Linked DNA regions of Homo sapiens: region 2 is linked to region 1. The links are contacts of gene promoters, found by promoter capture Hi-C in human tissues and cell types (Jung and others, 2019). All regions are on one chromosome and are shown on one strand. The core of a region is centred on a gene start or on the middle of the fragment in contact, and the rest is flanking DNA. Distances in the headings are between cores, read along the strand shown. Region 1 holds the start of ZNF579 (zinc finger protein 579). Region 2 holds the start of DNAAF3 (dynein axonemal assembly factor 3).

What was found. Contacts are between HindIII fragments. The study calls those that stand out against the background at their distance.
Region 2: the fragment with the promoter of DNAAF3 here is called in contact with the fragment with the promoter of ZNF579 in region 1 in 1 of the 25 tissues and cell types used here (dorsolateral prefrontal cortex).

The regions. Positions count from the first base shown.
Region 1 is chr19:55,576,812-55,584,216 of GRCh38, reverse strand. ZNF579 (zinc finger protein 579) reads left to right here and starts at 3,369. Exons shown (of 2, transcript NM_152600.3): 1 at 3,369-3,422; 2 at 4,576-7,405. The coding sequence starts at 4,578. The coding sequence ends at 6,266. RefSeq lists silencers at 2,020-2,314, 3,026-3,165. The HindIII fragment of the contact is 17,237 bases long and covers 1-7,405 here.
Region 2 is chr19:55,163,916-55,171,320 of GRCh38, reverse strand. DNAAF3 (dynein axonemal assembly factor 3) reads left to right here and starts at 4,708. Exons shown (of 12, transcript NM_001256715.2): 1 at 4,708-4,798; 2 at 4,904-4,992; 3 at 5,321-5,463; 4 at 5,858-5,951. The coding sequence starts at 4,908. DNAAF3-AS1 (DNAAF3 antisense RNA 1) reads right to left here. Exons shown (of 4, transcript XR_007067345.1): 3 at 6,521-6,777; 4 at 4,417-5,502. LOC124904795 (small nucleolar RNA U13) reads right to left here and starts at 4,150; the gene lies at 4,047-4,150. SYT5 (synaptotagmin 5) reads left to right here. Exons shown (of 9, transcript NM_003180.3): 9 at 1-125. RefSeq lists a silencer at 5,097-5,328. The HindIII fragment of the contact is 9,836 bases long and covers 299-7,405 here.

The DNA of each region.
Region 1 (7,405 bases), core at 2,120-4,619:
GAGGCGGAGATTGCGGTGAGCCGAGATCACGCCATTGCACTCCAGCTTAGGCAACAAGAGTGTAACTCTGTCTCAAAAAAAAAAAAAAAAAAAGAGTTCTGGAACTAGACAGCGTGGATAGTTGTGCAACATTTACTTAGTGCCATTGAGCTGTGTGATTTAAAATGGTTACAATTATAAAGTTTAAGTGTATTTTACAAAAAACATGTTAAAATACACACACCCATATTCTGACTACCAGCTTTGAAATATTAGGGATACAAATGACTCCCCGCGGACCACCCCCTCCAAGATCTGATTGCCTCTCCTATCTCAAACATAACTTATATCTTGAATTTGGTGCCTATTATTACCACAGACATTTTTAGACTTTTATTCCATGGTATATATTCTTTAAAATATAGTATTATGGACAAGGTGCTTTTAAAAAGCATGCTCCTAGTCTGGGCACGGTAGTTAATGCCTGTAATCCCAGCACTTTCGGAGGCTGAGGTGGAAGGATTGCTTGAGCTCAGGAATTCAAGACTAGCTTGGGCAACAGAGTGAGACCCCATTCCTATTTTATTTATTTATTTATTTATTTATTTATTTATTTATTTATTTATTTGAGACGGAGTCTTGCCCTGTCGCAGGCTGGAGTACAGTGGCACGATCTCGGCTCACTGCAACTTCCGCCTCCCAGGATCAAGCGATTCTCCTGCCTCAGCCTCCGGACTAGCTGGGATTGCAGGCGCGCACCACCATGCCCAGCTAATTTTTGTATTTTTAGTAGAGACGGTTTCACCGTGTTGGCCAGGCTGGTCTTGAACTCCTGACCTCAAGTGATCTGCCTCCCTCGGCCTCCCAAAGTGCTGGGATTACAGGCATGAGCCACCACGCCCGGCCTTTTATTATTTCTTTTAAATCATGCTTCTGATCCACTATCATTTCTCCTATCTGTTTGTGAAGTGAAACTTCTTACTGAGACTCGCTAGGTTTGGAAACTTCTAGTATCTCACTTTCATCCTCTGTAAAAGGGAAAAATAATGGTACCTACTTCATAAAGCAAGGAGTAAATGGGATCATATTTGTAATACGCTCACAAGAGTAAGCTATTATTTTTCATTTCATTTATTTTTATAATCCCCATGTATTTCTTTTTCCTTTACTTTTTTCTTTTCTTTTTTTTTTTTTTTTTTTTTTTGAGGTGGAGTTTTGCTCTGTTGCCCAGGCTGGAGTGCAATGGCACGATCTCAGCGCACTGCAACCTCTGCCTCCCAGGTTCAAGCCATTCTCCTGCCTCAGCCTCCTGAGTAGCTGGGATTATAGGCATGTGCCATTATGCCTGGCTAATTTTTGTACCTTTTGTAGAGATGGGGTTTCACCATGTGGGCCAGGCTGGTCTTGAACTCCTGGCCTCAGGTGATCTGCCCACCTGGGCCTCCCAAAGTGCTGAGATTACAGGCGTGAGCCACCATGCTTGGCCTCCTTTACTTTTTTGAGTATATAGCACATTCACACGGTTTTGAATTCAAAAAGTACAAAAAGCCGGGCACAGTGGCTAATGTCTGTAATTCCAGCACTTTGGGAGGCCGAGGCAGGTGGATTGCTTGAGCCCAGGAGTTCAAGCCCAGCCTGGGCAACATAGGGAGACCCCATCTCTACAAAACATACAAAAATTAGCCAGACATGGTGGCACACTCCTGTAGCCCCACCTACTCAGGAGGCTGAGGTGGGAGGATTGCTTGAGCCCGGGAGGTCGAGGCTGCAGTGAGCCGAGATCACACCACTGCACTTCCTCCAGCCAGCCTGGGCAACAGAAGGAGATCTCATCTCAAAAGAAAACAAAACAAAACAAAAAAAAACAAACAAACAAAAAAACAAGGATAGAGTGTAGTAAATTTCTGTCCTGGAAGTTAGACTATGTTGCCAGTTTCAGTTTCTTCTCTCTTGTTCCAGTTCATCTGGACACAATCCCAGAACACACACAAACCCAGAACAGGCTGCAGGCTGTACTTGACCTTCCATTTTTCTCTTCTACAGGTTATCACTTGGAGACTTACCATATATGCACACGGTGAGCTTCTTTGTTCTTTTCTATGGACACCTAGTATTCCACTGGGTGGATCAGTCATGATTTATTACTCAGCTCTCCTACAGATGGGTGTTTAGATTGGTTTCAGCTGTTTGCAGTGATGTGCAGTACTGCAATGATTAACCTGGTGCAGACATTATTTTGTGCAGTTCCGAGTAGATGCCTCTGAAGAATAAATTCCTGGAATTGCTGGCTCGGTAAGAATGTTCCAGGTTCTACTTGCCCCAGCCGTGTATGAAAGGACCTGTTTGCTCGCACTCTCATTAGCACTGTTTGGCAGGAATGTAACCTTAAACAAACAGCGTCAAGCTGTGGGTATACTCCTGCAAAATGCCTTTTCTGCTCCAGAATAGGTTTCTGAGATGTCGCCAGGTTGGTTTCATTCTGCCAATTTCAGCTGAAACATTGCTGCCTCCAGGAAGACCTCAGGAATCACCTCCTCCCAGTGTGAGCTCAGCTCAGTGCCTTCTGTTCTCTGCATTCCCATAGCAGTTCCCTGCCTCGGAGCACACGTTCCCCCACATGCACTCCAGCGTGATTGATCCGTATCTATCTGCCTTCCCCATCAGACAGTGAGCTCCGGTTTTTGCCACTGTGACTCCAGCACCAAGGACAGCACCAGCCCATAGTAGGTGCTCAGTAAACATTGGCTGCTAAGGTCCCAGTGAATATGCGTATATGTAGACAAATATATGCAGGCTGGCCCGTAGTAGATATTCAGTAAATATTGGTCGCTTAGGGTTGAATGAGTATATGCAGGGGCTTTCACAAAGGGGGAAACCGAGGCTCGAAGTGGGAGAATCCTTCACCCAGACAGCCAAGGGAAGGCTGGAGCCAGGTTCTGATCCAGAGTGCCAGTACTTCCTGAAGCCTCTGTCACTGATTCATTCATCTTCCTCCCCCGGCCACTCCCCTGGCCTGACACAGTGCCTGGCACAGACAGGACCTGATAAATGTGTATTTGTTGAAGGAATGAATGAATATGTGTGTGTGCATGTTGGGGAGCCGGGAGTAGCTGGACCCAGTGTTCCAGGCCCTCAGCACCCTCCGCCCTCTGGGAGCCCGGGGGACAGGCCCCCAGCCCCCTCCCCTCACAGGACCCTGTAGTGCAAGCTGCCTTCCCTCCCCTCTCCAGGTCCCCCGTCCTCCCGCTTCCGGCTTCCCAGCCAGTCTTTCCTCTTTCAGGCTCCGAGGAAAGGCCAGGTTTCCGGGGGGAAGGCTTAGGCAGTGACACCGAGCCCAGCCTCCTCCTCCACCCCCCACCACGCTCAGGCCCCCCTCCCTCCCCGCCACCACCGTCCGCGTTTGGCCGGCCGTGGGGAAGGAAGAAAGGAGCCAAGGAGGCGAGGTAAGAACCCAGCCCCAGCGACCAGGACCAAGCCCCAGGCCCAGGGCTGAGAAATCCTCAAGGCCTCGACCCGGCCCCAATTCTGCTGATCATGCCTTCGGGGAGCTGCAGGCTTGGCCCGGAGGAGATCGGCCCCCCTCTAGGACCTGGGACCCCCGACCCCCACCAGCCTCCCTCCCGAGTCCAGGGGTCCGGCCCTCAGTCGCCTCCTCCCTGGGGATTCCCGGCAGCTGGGTCCCCAGCCCCCGCCTCCCCCTTGTCCTGGGAGCCCAGCCCCCTCCCCAGCCCCTCCTCCACCGGGACCCAGGAATCCACACCTCCTCCATACCAGAGTCCAGATTCCCCAATCCGTCATGACCTGGACCCAGGAGTCTCAATCCCCAGCTCCCATCCCCATCAGTCCCAAGAGTCTGGGCCCCTAGCCCCCTCCCAACTCAGACCAGAAGTCTGAACCCTCCTACTCCCCGACCTCTCCCAGCCCCTGGCATCTGAGAACACACTCTATTTCCGGGGCCTACCGGCTTCAAATCCCACCCCCTCCACTCAGGCCCCATGGGCTGTGTCCCAGCCCCTCCCAAAACGTTCAGCCTGGCCGGGGGACCTGGAGCAGAAGCGGTTCGCTGACTTTGTCCCCCTCCGTGCCTCTGCCCAGTTCACTCCCTCTGTGTCTCTGTCTCCCTGTCTCTCCGGCCCCCAACCCGCCACTGCTCTTCTGATCTCTGCTCTTGCACTATCTCTGCCTCTGGTTCTCCAAGTCTCTTTGTTTCCTCTTCTCTGTGTCTCTGTCTCTCTGCTGGGTGTTCCTCACTCTCCTCTGTCTCTTCTCTGCTCTGCCTTTCACCATCCTGTCTTTCTGCGACTCCTGGTCTCTGTCTGTCCATCCCCACTTCTCTGTGTCTCCCATCTCTGCCTTCTCCTGTCTCTATTCCCTGCTCTGTCGCTCTGTCTCTGATCTCTCTCCTCCTGTCTCTCCATCTCTGGCCTCCCCTCGGTGTCTCTCATCTTTGTCTCTGTCTCATATCTCTCTCCTGGCTAAATACCTGACCCTCTCTGCCTCTCCATCTCTGACTGTCTCTGCTTCTCTTTCTGCCACACCCCACGCACCTCTTTTTATCTCTGCCCCGCTTCCCATCTCTCCCCTCTCTCCCCACAGGCATGGATCCGCAGCCTCCTCCACCCGCCCAGGGCAGCCCACCTCACCGTGGCCGAGGCCGGGGCCGTGGCCGAGGCCGTGGTCGGGGCCGTGGCCGTGGCAGGGGGGGCGCTGGAGCCCCTAGGGCGCCCCTGCCCTGCCCCACCTGCGGCCGCCTCTTCCGTTTCCCCTACTACCTCTCCCGGCACCGGCTGAGCCACTCGGGGCTCCGGCCCCACGCCTGCCCGCTGTGCCCCAAGGCCTTCCGCCGGCCGGCCCACCTTTCCCGCCACCTGCGCGGCCACGGGCCCCAGCCCCCGCTGCGCTGCGCCGCCTGCCCCCGCACCTTCCCAGAACCGGCCCAGCTCAGGCGCCACCTGGCTCAGGAGCACGCGGGCGGCGAGGTCGAGCTGGCCATCGAGAGGGTGGCCAAGGAGACGGCCGAACCCAGCTGGGGCCCGCAGGACGAGGGCTCGGAGCCGCCCACCACCGCTGCAGCAGGGGCCACGGAGGAGGAGGCGGTCGCAGCGTGGCCTGAGACGTGGCCTGCGGGGGAGCCTTCCACGCTGGCTGCGCCCACCAGCGCCGCGGAGCCCCGGGAGTCGGAGTCGGAGGAGGCCGAGGCCGGGGCAGCAGAGCTGAGGGCCGAGCTGGCGCTGGCGGCCGGGCGGCAGGAGGAGAAACAGGTCCTGCTCCAGGCAGACTGGACGCTGCTGTGTCTGCGCTGCCGCGAAGCCTTCGCCACCAAGGGCGAGCTCAAGGCGCACCCGTGTCTGCGCCCCGAGGGCGAACAGGAAGGGGAAGGGGGGCCCCCGCCACGCCCCAAGCGACACCAGTGCTCCATCTGCCTCAAGGCCTTCGCCAGGCCCTGGTCCCTGTCGCGCCACCGGCTGGTCCACTCCACCGACCGCCCTTTCGTGTGCCCAGACTGCGGCCTGGCCTTCCGCCTCGCCTCCTACCTCCGCCAGCACCGCCGCGTCCACGGCCCCCTCAGCCTGCTGGCCCCGCTGCCCGCGGCGGGCAAGAAGGACGACAAGGCCTCGGGTGCACGGAACTCAGCCAAGGGGCCGGAGGGGGGCGAGGGGGCGGAGTGCGGGGGTGCCTCGGAAGGGGGAGAAGGGCAGAACGGAGGCGACGCCGCCCCGGCTCGGCCCCCCGCCGGGGAGCCCCGCTTCTGGTGCCCAGAGTGCGGCAAAGGTTTCAGGCGCCGGGCGCACCTGCGGCAGCACGGGGTGACCCACTCGGGAGCGCGCCCCTTCCAGTGCGTGCGCTGCCAGCGGGAGTTCAAGCGCCTGGCCGACCTGGCGCGCCACGCACAGGTGCACGCGGGGGGCCCAGCCCCGCACCCGTGCCCCCGCTGCCCGCGCCGCTTCTCGCGCGCCTACAGCCTCCTGCGCCACCAGCGCTGCCACCGCGCAGAGCTGGAGAGGGCCGCCGCGCTGCAGGCACTGCAGGCCCAGGCCCCGACGTCGCCGCCACCGCCCCCGCCGCCCCTGAAGGCCGAGCAGGAGGAAGAAGGGCTCCCGCTGCCCCTCGCAAACATTAAGGAAGAGCCGCCCTCTCCGGGGACCCCACCCCAGTCCCCGCCGGCTCCCCCTGTCTTCCTCAGCGCCTCCTGTTTCGACAGCCAAGACCACTCAGCCTTCGAGATGGAGGAGGAAGAGGTAGACAGCAAGGCTCACCTGCGCGGGCTGGGGGGCCTGGCCTCCTGACCTTCGCCGCCCTGCCCTCCGCCGCTCCGCCTGAGCTCCCCGGTTTGCAGAATGGAGGAGGGAAGTTGAAGGAGCCACCTCCTCTGTCTACCCACCCGTCCCCTTCACGCCCTTGACACTAAGGAGTGGGGGGCCCTGGACTGCCCCTTCCTCCCCCATCGCCCGCCCCCAGAACCCCTGATGCTGGTTAGGAACCGCTCACCCCAACATGTGTCTTAAGGCAGGACGACTTGGAAAAAAAGGCGGCGGACAGTTGGCCAGAGGGATGGAGACTGGTGGGGACGCCCCCGCCTCCCTGTCCCCCGTTTCACACACTGGACACCATCACCTCTTTGGAACTGCCAGACCCTGGGGGTCCCCAGTGAGCAAAGGTCTGTCCTTGTCCCTTTGTCTGTCTGTGAATAAATGTGAGTTCGTGAAATCCAAGAGAGCGAGGTGTTCTGTGGAGGTGGGGCAGGCTGGGGGCGCTGGGGCGAGTCAGGATTTGTCCAGCCAACTCTGAACTTGGGTTCAGAGCAGGAAGGACACAGATGCATCAGAAAATATGTGGCCCTCAACCAAGCAAGAAGCCGGTGAAGGCTGGGTTGAGAAGAAACAGGAATGTGAGAAGATAGATCATCGTCACCGCTGCCCTGTGGAAGCTCCGCGCGATTATCCTCACCACTGCCCTGTGGAAGCTCCGCGCCTTACTCAGTCAATCTCTACCACACCCTTACTCTGTGTCAGCGGTGGTACTAGGCACTGAGGAGGAGTCCAATACCTTCCTCTGAAAGAGCTGGAATTCTAGCCCTGCATTGTCCAACATAACTTTTTTTTTTTCTCAGAAAAGTTTCCATAATCTTTCTTCCCTCACTCTGTTGCCCAAGCTGCAGTGCCGTGGTGCAGTCATAGCTCACTGCAGTCTCAAACTCCCAGACCCAAGCAATCCTCTTAGCCTCTCAAGGAGCTAGGACTACAGGTGCATGCCACCACACCCAGCTGATTGTTTCATTTCTTGCAGAGACGGAGTCTTGCTATCTTGCCCAGTCTGGGAGAACTTTTTGTGATGATGGGATATTCTACATCTTCACTGTCCAATATGATATCCAGCAGACACACGTGGCTATTTCCGTTTAAATTTAGAATATGGAAATGTAAAG
Region 2 (7,405 bases), core at 3,459-5,958, 410 kb after region 1:
GTGTGTGTGTGTGTGGCTGTAGAGCATGTCTTTATGAAGACAGCCCTTTATGTTACTACTATTACTGCCAATAATAATCCTCACAGCAAACTCATGAAATAAACATGATCATTATTCCCAGTTGACAAATGAGTCCAAACTGTGCTTTAGAAAATTTGGGGCTGGGCGTAGTGGCTCACGCCTGTAATCCCAGCACTTTGGGAGGCTGAGGTGGGCGGATCACCTATGGTCAGGAATTCAAGACCAGCTGGGCCAACATGCTGAAACCCTGTCTCTACTAAAAATACAAAAATTAACTGGGTGTCGTGGCAAGCACCTGTAATCCCAGCTACTAGGGAGGCTGAGGCAGGAGACTCGCTTGAACCCAGGAGGTGGAGGTTGCAGTGAGTCGAGATCGCGCCATTGCACTCCAGCCTGGACAACAAGAGCAAAACTCCATCTAAAAAAAGAGAGAGAGAGAGAGAGAGAGAATTCCTGTGAAATGCTCAGAATCACACAGCCAGAGAGCCTGTCTCTAAATCCTGGGATTGATTTAGATGATGGCAATGGGGTCCTTGGGTCTCTGTCTCAACAAGAAAGCAGAGCGATAGAAGAATAAAACCATTACAAATGGCCGTCCACACTGGGACCAAAACGTAAAAAGGCTGACATAACTTAGGGAGGGTGGTCAGGGGCAGCCTTGCTGAGGAGGTGCGGTCTGGGCCATGACTTGAATGACAAGAAGGAACGAAGCTTGCAAAGGTTAGGGAGAACAACAGTGGAATATTATTTGGTCATAAAAACAGAAGAAAGCATTGATTCATGCTTCAGCATAGATGAGTCCTGAAAATATTATGCCAAGTGAAGGAAGCCGGATACAGAAGGCTGCATAGTGCAGTATTCCATCCAAAAGAAATCTCCTGCACTGACAAATACATAGAGACAGAAAGTAGATTCGTGGTTGCCAGGGACAGAGGAGAGAGAAATGGGGAGATAAATGGGGTACGTGTTTTCTTTTGGAGTGATGAGAAAGTTCTGGAATTAGACAGTGGTGATGGTTGCACAGCATTGCAAGTGTACTAAATGTCATTCCCAATCAACTTAATAGTGTGTGTGTTTTACACCAATTTAAAAAGAAAACAAGGCCAAGCACGATGGCTCATGCCTTAATCCTAGCACTTTGGGAGGCAGGAGGATTGCTTGGGGCCCAGGGTTAGACACCAGCCTGGATAACCTCTCTATTTTTAAAATTTGTAAAGTTAGCTAGGTATGCTGGCACGTGGCTATAGTTCTAGCTACTTGGGGAGCAGAGGTGGGAGGATCGATTGAGCCCAGGAGTTTCAGGCTGGAGTACTCCAGCCTAGGCAACAGAGCAAGTCCCTGCCTTAAATAAATAAATAAATAAATACAGCCGGGCGCAGTGGCTCACGCCTGTAATCTCAGAATTTTGGGAGGCCAAGGCCGGCGGATCACTTGAGGTCGGGAGTTTGAGACCAGCCTGACCAACACGGAGAAACCCTGTCTCTACTAAAAATACAAAATTAGCTGGGCGTGATGGCACATGCCTGTAGTCCCAGCTACTCAGGAGGCTGAGGCAGGAGAATGGCTTGAACCCGGCAGGTGGACGTTGCAGTGAGCCGAGATAGCGCCATTGCACTCCAACCTGGGCAACAAGAGTGAAACTCCATCTCAAATAAGTAAATAAATAACAGCCTGGGCAACTAGTGAGACCCTTTCTCTACATAAATAAATAAATAAATATCCGGGCATGGCGGCACTTGCCTGTGGTCCCAGCTACTCAGGGGACTGAGGTGGGAGGACTGCTTGAGCCTGAGAGGTTGAGGCTGCAGTGAGCTATGATCACACCACTGAACTCAAGTCTGGATAACAGAGCAAGACTTTGTCTCAAAAATAAATATATAGAAAACAAAGATGAGGGGGAAGATAATTTAAGGCAAAAGAATCCCAAGTTGCAAAGGCCCTGGGGTTCAAACGGCTTGGTGTGTTCTCCAAGGAGCCAGGAGGCTGATGTGGCTTCAGGGGTGGATGACTGCAGATTGCATAGGGCATAGGGAGCCAAGCTAAGGAGCGGGGAATGTGTCCAGGTGCAGCGGGAAGACTTTGGAGGATTTGAAGAGGTGGGAGACATTATTTGATTTATGTTTAAGATCACTCTGGGCCAGGTGCAGTGGCTCACACCGGTAATTCCAGCACTTTGGGAGGCTGAGGCCGGCGGAACTCTTGAAGTCAGGAGTTCGAGACCAGCCTGGCTAACATGGTGAAACCCCGTCTCTACTAAAAATAAAAAAGAATCGCTGGAGCTGGGCACGGTGGCTCACGCCTGTAATCCTAGCGCTTTGGGAGGCCAAGGCAGGTGGATTGCCTGAGCTCAGGAATTCGAGACCAGCCTGGGCAACACGGTGAAACCTCGTCTCTACTAAAATACAAAAAATTAGCTGGGCGTGGCAGCGTGCGCCTGTAATCCCAGCTACTTGGGAGGCTGAGGCAGGAGAATTGCTAGAACCCGGGAAGCGGAGGTTGCAGTGAGCCAAGATCGTGCCACTGCACTCCAGCCTGGGCGACAGAGCAAGACTCCGTCTCTAAAAAAAAAATAATAAATAAATAAATCGCCTGGCTCGGTGGTTCACACCTGTAATCCCAACACTTTGAGAGACCAAGGCGGGCAGATCACCTGAGGTCGTGAGTTGGAGACCAGCCTGACCAACACGGAGAAACCCTGTCTCTACAAAAAATACAAAATTAGCCGGGCGTCCTGGCGCCTGCCTGTAATCCCAGCTACTCGGGAGGCTGAGGCAGAAGAATGGCTTGAACCCGGGAGGCGGAGGTTGCGGTGAGCCGAGATCGCGCCATTGCACTCCAGCCTGGGCAACAAGAGTGAAACTCTCTCTCTCTCTCTCTCTCTCTCTCTCTCTCTATATATATATATATATATATGTATATATATGTATATTTGTATTTTATTTTGTATATATATACAAAATATTTGTATTTTATTTTGTGTATATATAAATATATATACATATATTTGTATTTTATTTTGTGTGTGTATATATATATATATACACAAAATAAAATACAAATACAAAAATTAGCTGGTGTGGTGGCAAATGCCTGTAGTCCCAGCTACCTGGGAGGCTGGGACAGGAGAATCGCTTGAACCCGGGAGGCGGAGGTTTCAGTGAGCCGAGATCGCGCCACTGCACTCCAGCCTGGGTGTCACAGCAAGACTCCATCTCAAAAAAAAAAAATGTCACTCTGGTTCCTTTGCTGAGAATTTGTTGGGAGAGTGGGAGAAATAGGGAGGAAAGGCATTAATTCTCCAGAGAGAAACCCAGGATCTGGGGCTCTTGCAGGCTTAGAGCTGGCCTGGAAGGGGCTGGTTAGCCAGCCTGATTCTGCAGGAATGTCTGAGGTCTCAACCTTCGTTTCCCCAGTAGGTATTGTCTTCCCAGTGCCCAGATCTGCCCTCAGGAGGCAGATCCGCTGCACCTCTGCCCGCTGCACGCTACATTCCCATTTCACAGAGCAGCAGACTGAGGCTCAGAAAGGGTGACTGGTCTAAGCTCATGTGTCTGGGCAAGGAGAGGAGGCAGAGAGCCAAGTCCCCTTGGGCGCTGAGCCCAGTGCTGGGTGCTGGGGTGATCTAGAGATGTGCCTCATTCAGACTTTGGTTTTTCTTTTTTTTTTTTTTGAGACAGAGTCTTGCTCTGTCGCCCAGGCTGGAGTTCAGAGGCGCGATCTCAGTTCACTGCAACCTCTGCCTCCCAGGTTCAACAGACTCTCCTGCCTCAGCCTCCGGAGTAGCTGGGATTACAGGTGCGTGCCACCACGCCCGGTTAATTTTTGTATTTTTTAAGGTCGAGGCGCGGTTTCACCATGTTGGCCAGACTGGTCTCCAACTTCTGACCTCAAGTTATCTGCCCACCTTGACCTCCCAAAGTGTTGGGATCACAGGCGTGGCCACAGCGCCCGGCCGACTTACCCTTATTTTAATGCAGTTGATTTAACTGTACGATTACAGAATTTACCTGTAATTTTTTTGTTCATGTCAGAAGAGTAATGTGCCGATGTCGTAACAAGGTTTGAGGGAGGCACATCTCACGCATGCGCGTGAACACCCAATCATCCCGCTTAGAAACTACAAAAGGATCTAGCTGTAAGTTTAAATTATGGCTTCGTGTAACAATAACCAGCTCACAAATCCCTGAATTTTTAATGACCTGCACATCAGTGTCCCACCTGTGGGCTGTTCTGTGTGGTAGAGCCCACGTTGTGCTGGGGCGGGGAGCGGGCTCAGAAGCCTGCCATCTAAAGTCTAGACACTTCACTTTATTTGAATTGATGAAAATTCCGTTACGTATGAGCAAAGGCATATGAAGAAAACAAAAAAACAAAAAACAAGAAATAAGATTAAGCTCCCTTCACTCTCAATTTTAATCAGCCCAGGCCTCCCCCATTCCAGAAATTTGGACCGACCCTGACTCCGCCCCAACCTGTTCTAGCACCGCCCCTTCCCCCGCCGGCGCCGTCGTCATGACAACCGCGTCCACACGCCCTCTTCTCCTAGGTGTGGGGGAAGGCTGGCCCTCAGTGCTCCCATTGGCCAAAAGTTTGTAGAGGGCGGGCCTCGCTCACTCTCATTGGTCAGTTGCTCGCTGTGGTCCCATCCCACATGCTTCCATTGCTTGATTCCTCGAAAAGGGCGGGGACTCTGGGCAGCGGTTGTGGAGTGCCGCGGGTCCACAGTGCTGCACTGAGCAGAGAGGAAGGGGCGTCCCGGGATATTTGGAGGATAAAGGTGTGGGCAAGGTATCATGTGGAGGCAAAGGGGCGAGAAGTGAGGGGCGGTGAGAGGGGAGCGGGGCGGGCAATGTGTGCGATTCCCAGAATGTCTTTTCCGCAGGGTGATGACCACACCTGCCGGCTCCGGCAGCGGCTTCGGCTCCGTGTCCTGGTGGGGCCTGTCCCCGGCGCTGGACCTGCAGGCTGAAAGTGAGTCCCAGCACGCAAGGTCTGATACACCGTCTGCCTTCCCAGCCTGAGCAGACGGCCTTTTAGAGCTCGTAGTCCCAGCGTCGGTGGCAAGGGGGGCGCTAACGTTCTCCAACGCTCCAGCGGCAGAGGGCGCGCTCCCAGGGGCAGCCCCGAGGTCCTGTCTGCGGACTGCGAATCCCAGAATACTCAGAGGAAACACCTCCCCTTAGAACCTAGGCCACGGGCGGAACGCCTACTGGGATTTGTAGTCCATTTTTTATAGGGGATGCTACGGTGGACGCTCTGCCAACCACCATGGTGCCCCAGCCAGCTGTCATCTTGCCAGGTCCTCCTGTGGACCCAGACTCCCAGGCCGATACAGTGCACAGCAACCCCGAGCTAGATGTGCTGCTTCTGGGCTCTGTGGATGGACGGCACCTGCTGCGGACCCTGTCCCGAGCGAAGTTCTGGCCTCGCAGGAGGTTCAACGTGAGCTGGGATGAAGATGAGAGCCCAGATTCCCGAGTCCTTGAGGGAGGAAGGGATTGAAATTCTAAAACCTCAGGTCCAGGAATGAAGGGGCTGGAGACTCCTAGATCTGAGGGAGGCAGAAGCTGGGAGCGAACCGATGCGTCTTGGGGGAAGGAAGGGGCTGGGGTTTGGAACTCCTGGGTTCTATAGTGGGGAAGAGCTCGAGGATGAGGTCTTCTGAGTAATGGAAGGGAAGAGAGCTCTGGGGACACAGACTTCTGTGTTTGAAGGAAGAGGCTGGTGTACAGAACTCGGGTGTGTGGAAGGAGAGAGCTGAGGGCCTGCTCTCCTGGGTCTCCTAGGACCCAGGCAAACAGGTCTCAGAATTATTCTGCCCTGTCCATCCTTCTAGTTCTTTGTGCTGGAGAATAATCTGGAAGCTGTGGCCCGACACATGCTGATCTTCAGCCTAGCCCTGGAGGAACCGGAGAAGATGGGGCTGCAAGGTCTGTTGCTAGGACCCAGGCATTCTGACCGCTGGTCTCCTCCCCCTCCCTAGAGGGATTCTGGCATTTCAATGGTACAATTAAAAAGTTTGGTTATTTTCCTGGGAGGCGGAGGTTACAGTGAGCCGAGATCGCGCCATTGCACTCCAGCCTAGGCAACAAGAGCGAAACTCCGGCCGGGCGCGGTGGCTCACGCCTGTTAATCCCAGCACTTTGGGAGGCCGAGGCAGGAGAATGGCGTGAACCCGGCAGGCGGAGCTTGCAGTGAGCTGAGATCGCGCCACTGCACTCCAGCCAGGGTGACAGAGCGAGACTCCGTCTCAAAAAAAAAAAAAAAAAAAAAAAAAAGAGAGCGAAACTCCATCTAAAAACCAAAAATGTTTGGTATTTTCCAGTGTGGTACCTCTGATGAAAAAAAAAATCCAATATATTTATTGATGATGGTCCCCTCTGATGTAATTTGCCATCTTAGAGCCTCAGCTCCTCCTACCTGTAAAATGGGGCTAAATATAATACATCTTAGAGCCACTTAGAAAATTCCAGGAGAGGCTGGGTGCAGTGGTTCACACCTGTAATCCCAGCACTTTGGGAGGCTGAGGTGGGCAGATCACGAGGTCAGGAGATCGAGACCATCCTGCTCAACATGGTGAAACCCCGTCTCTACTAAACATACAACAATTAGCCGGGTGTGGTGGCAGGCGCCTGTAGTCCCAGCTACTCGGGAGGCTGAAGCAGGAGAATCACTTGAACCCGGGAGGCAGAGGTTGCAGTGAGCCGAGATCACACCACTGCACTCCAGCCTGGGCGACAAAAGCAAAACCTCCATCTAAAAAAAAAAGAAAGAAAGAAAAAGAAAACAGGTTTGTTTGTTTATTTATTTATTTATTTGAGGCAGAGTCTTGTCCCGTTGCCCAGATTGGAGTGCAATGGCACGATCTTGGCTCTCCATAACCTCTGCCTCCTGGATTCAAGCAATTCTCCTGCCTCAGTCTCCCAAGTAGCTGGGATTACAGGCATGCACCACCATGCCCGGCTAAGGTTTTGTATTTTTAGTAGAGCCGGGGTTTCACCATGTTGGCCAGGATGGTCTCGAGATGCTGACCTCAGGTGATCCGCCCGCCTTGGCCTGCCAAAGTGCTAGGTTTACAGGCGGGTGCGATCACACCCGGCCCCAAGAAAAGAGGTTTAATTGACTCACAGTTCCACAGGCTGTACAGGGAGTATGGCTGGGAAGGCCTCAGGAAACTTACAATCATGACAGGAGGCGAAGGGGATGCAGGCATCTGTTCCACGGCAGGAAAAGGGGCAAGAGAGGCAGTGGGGAAGAGGCGCACACTTGCAAATAACCAGATTTTGTGGGAACTCACTATCACGAGAACAGCAAGGGAGAAATCTGCCCCTGTGACCCAATCACCTCCCACCAGGCCCCGCCTCCAATATTGGGGATTACAATT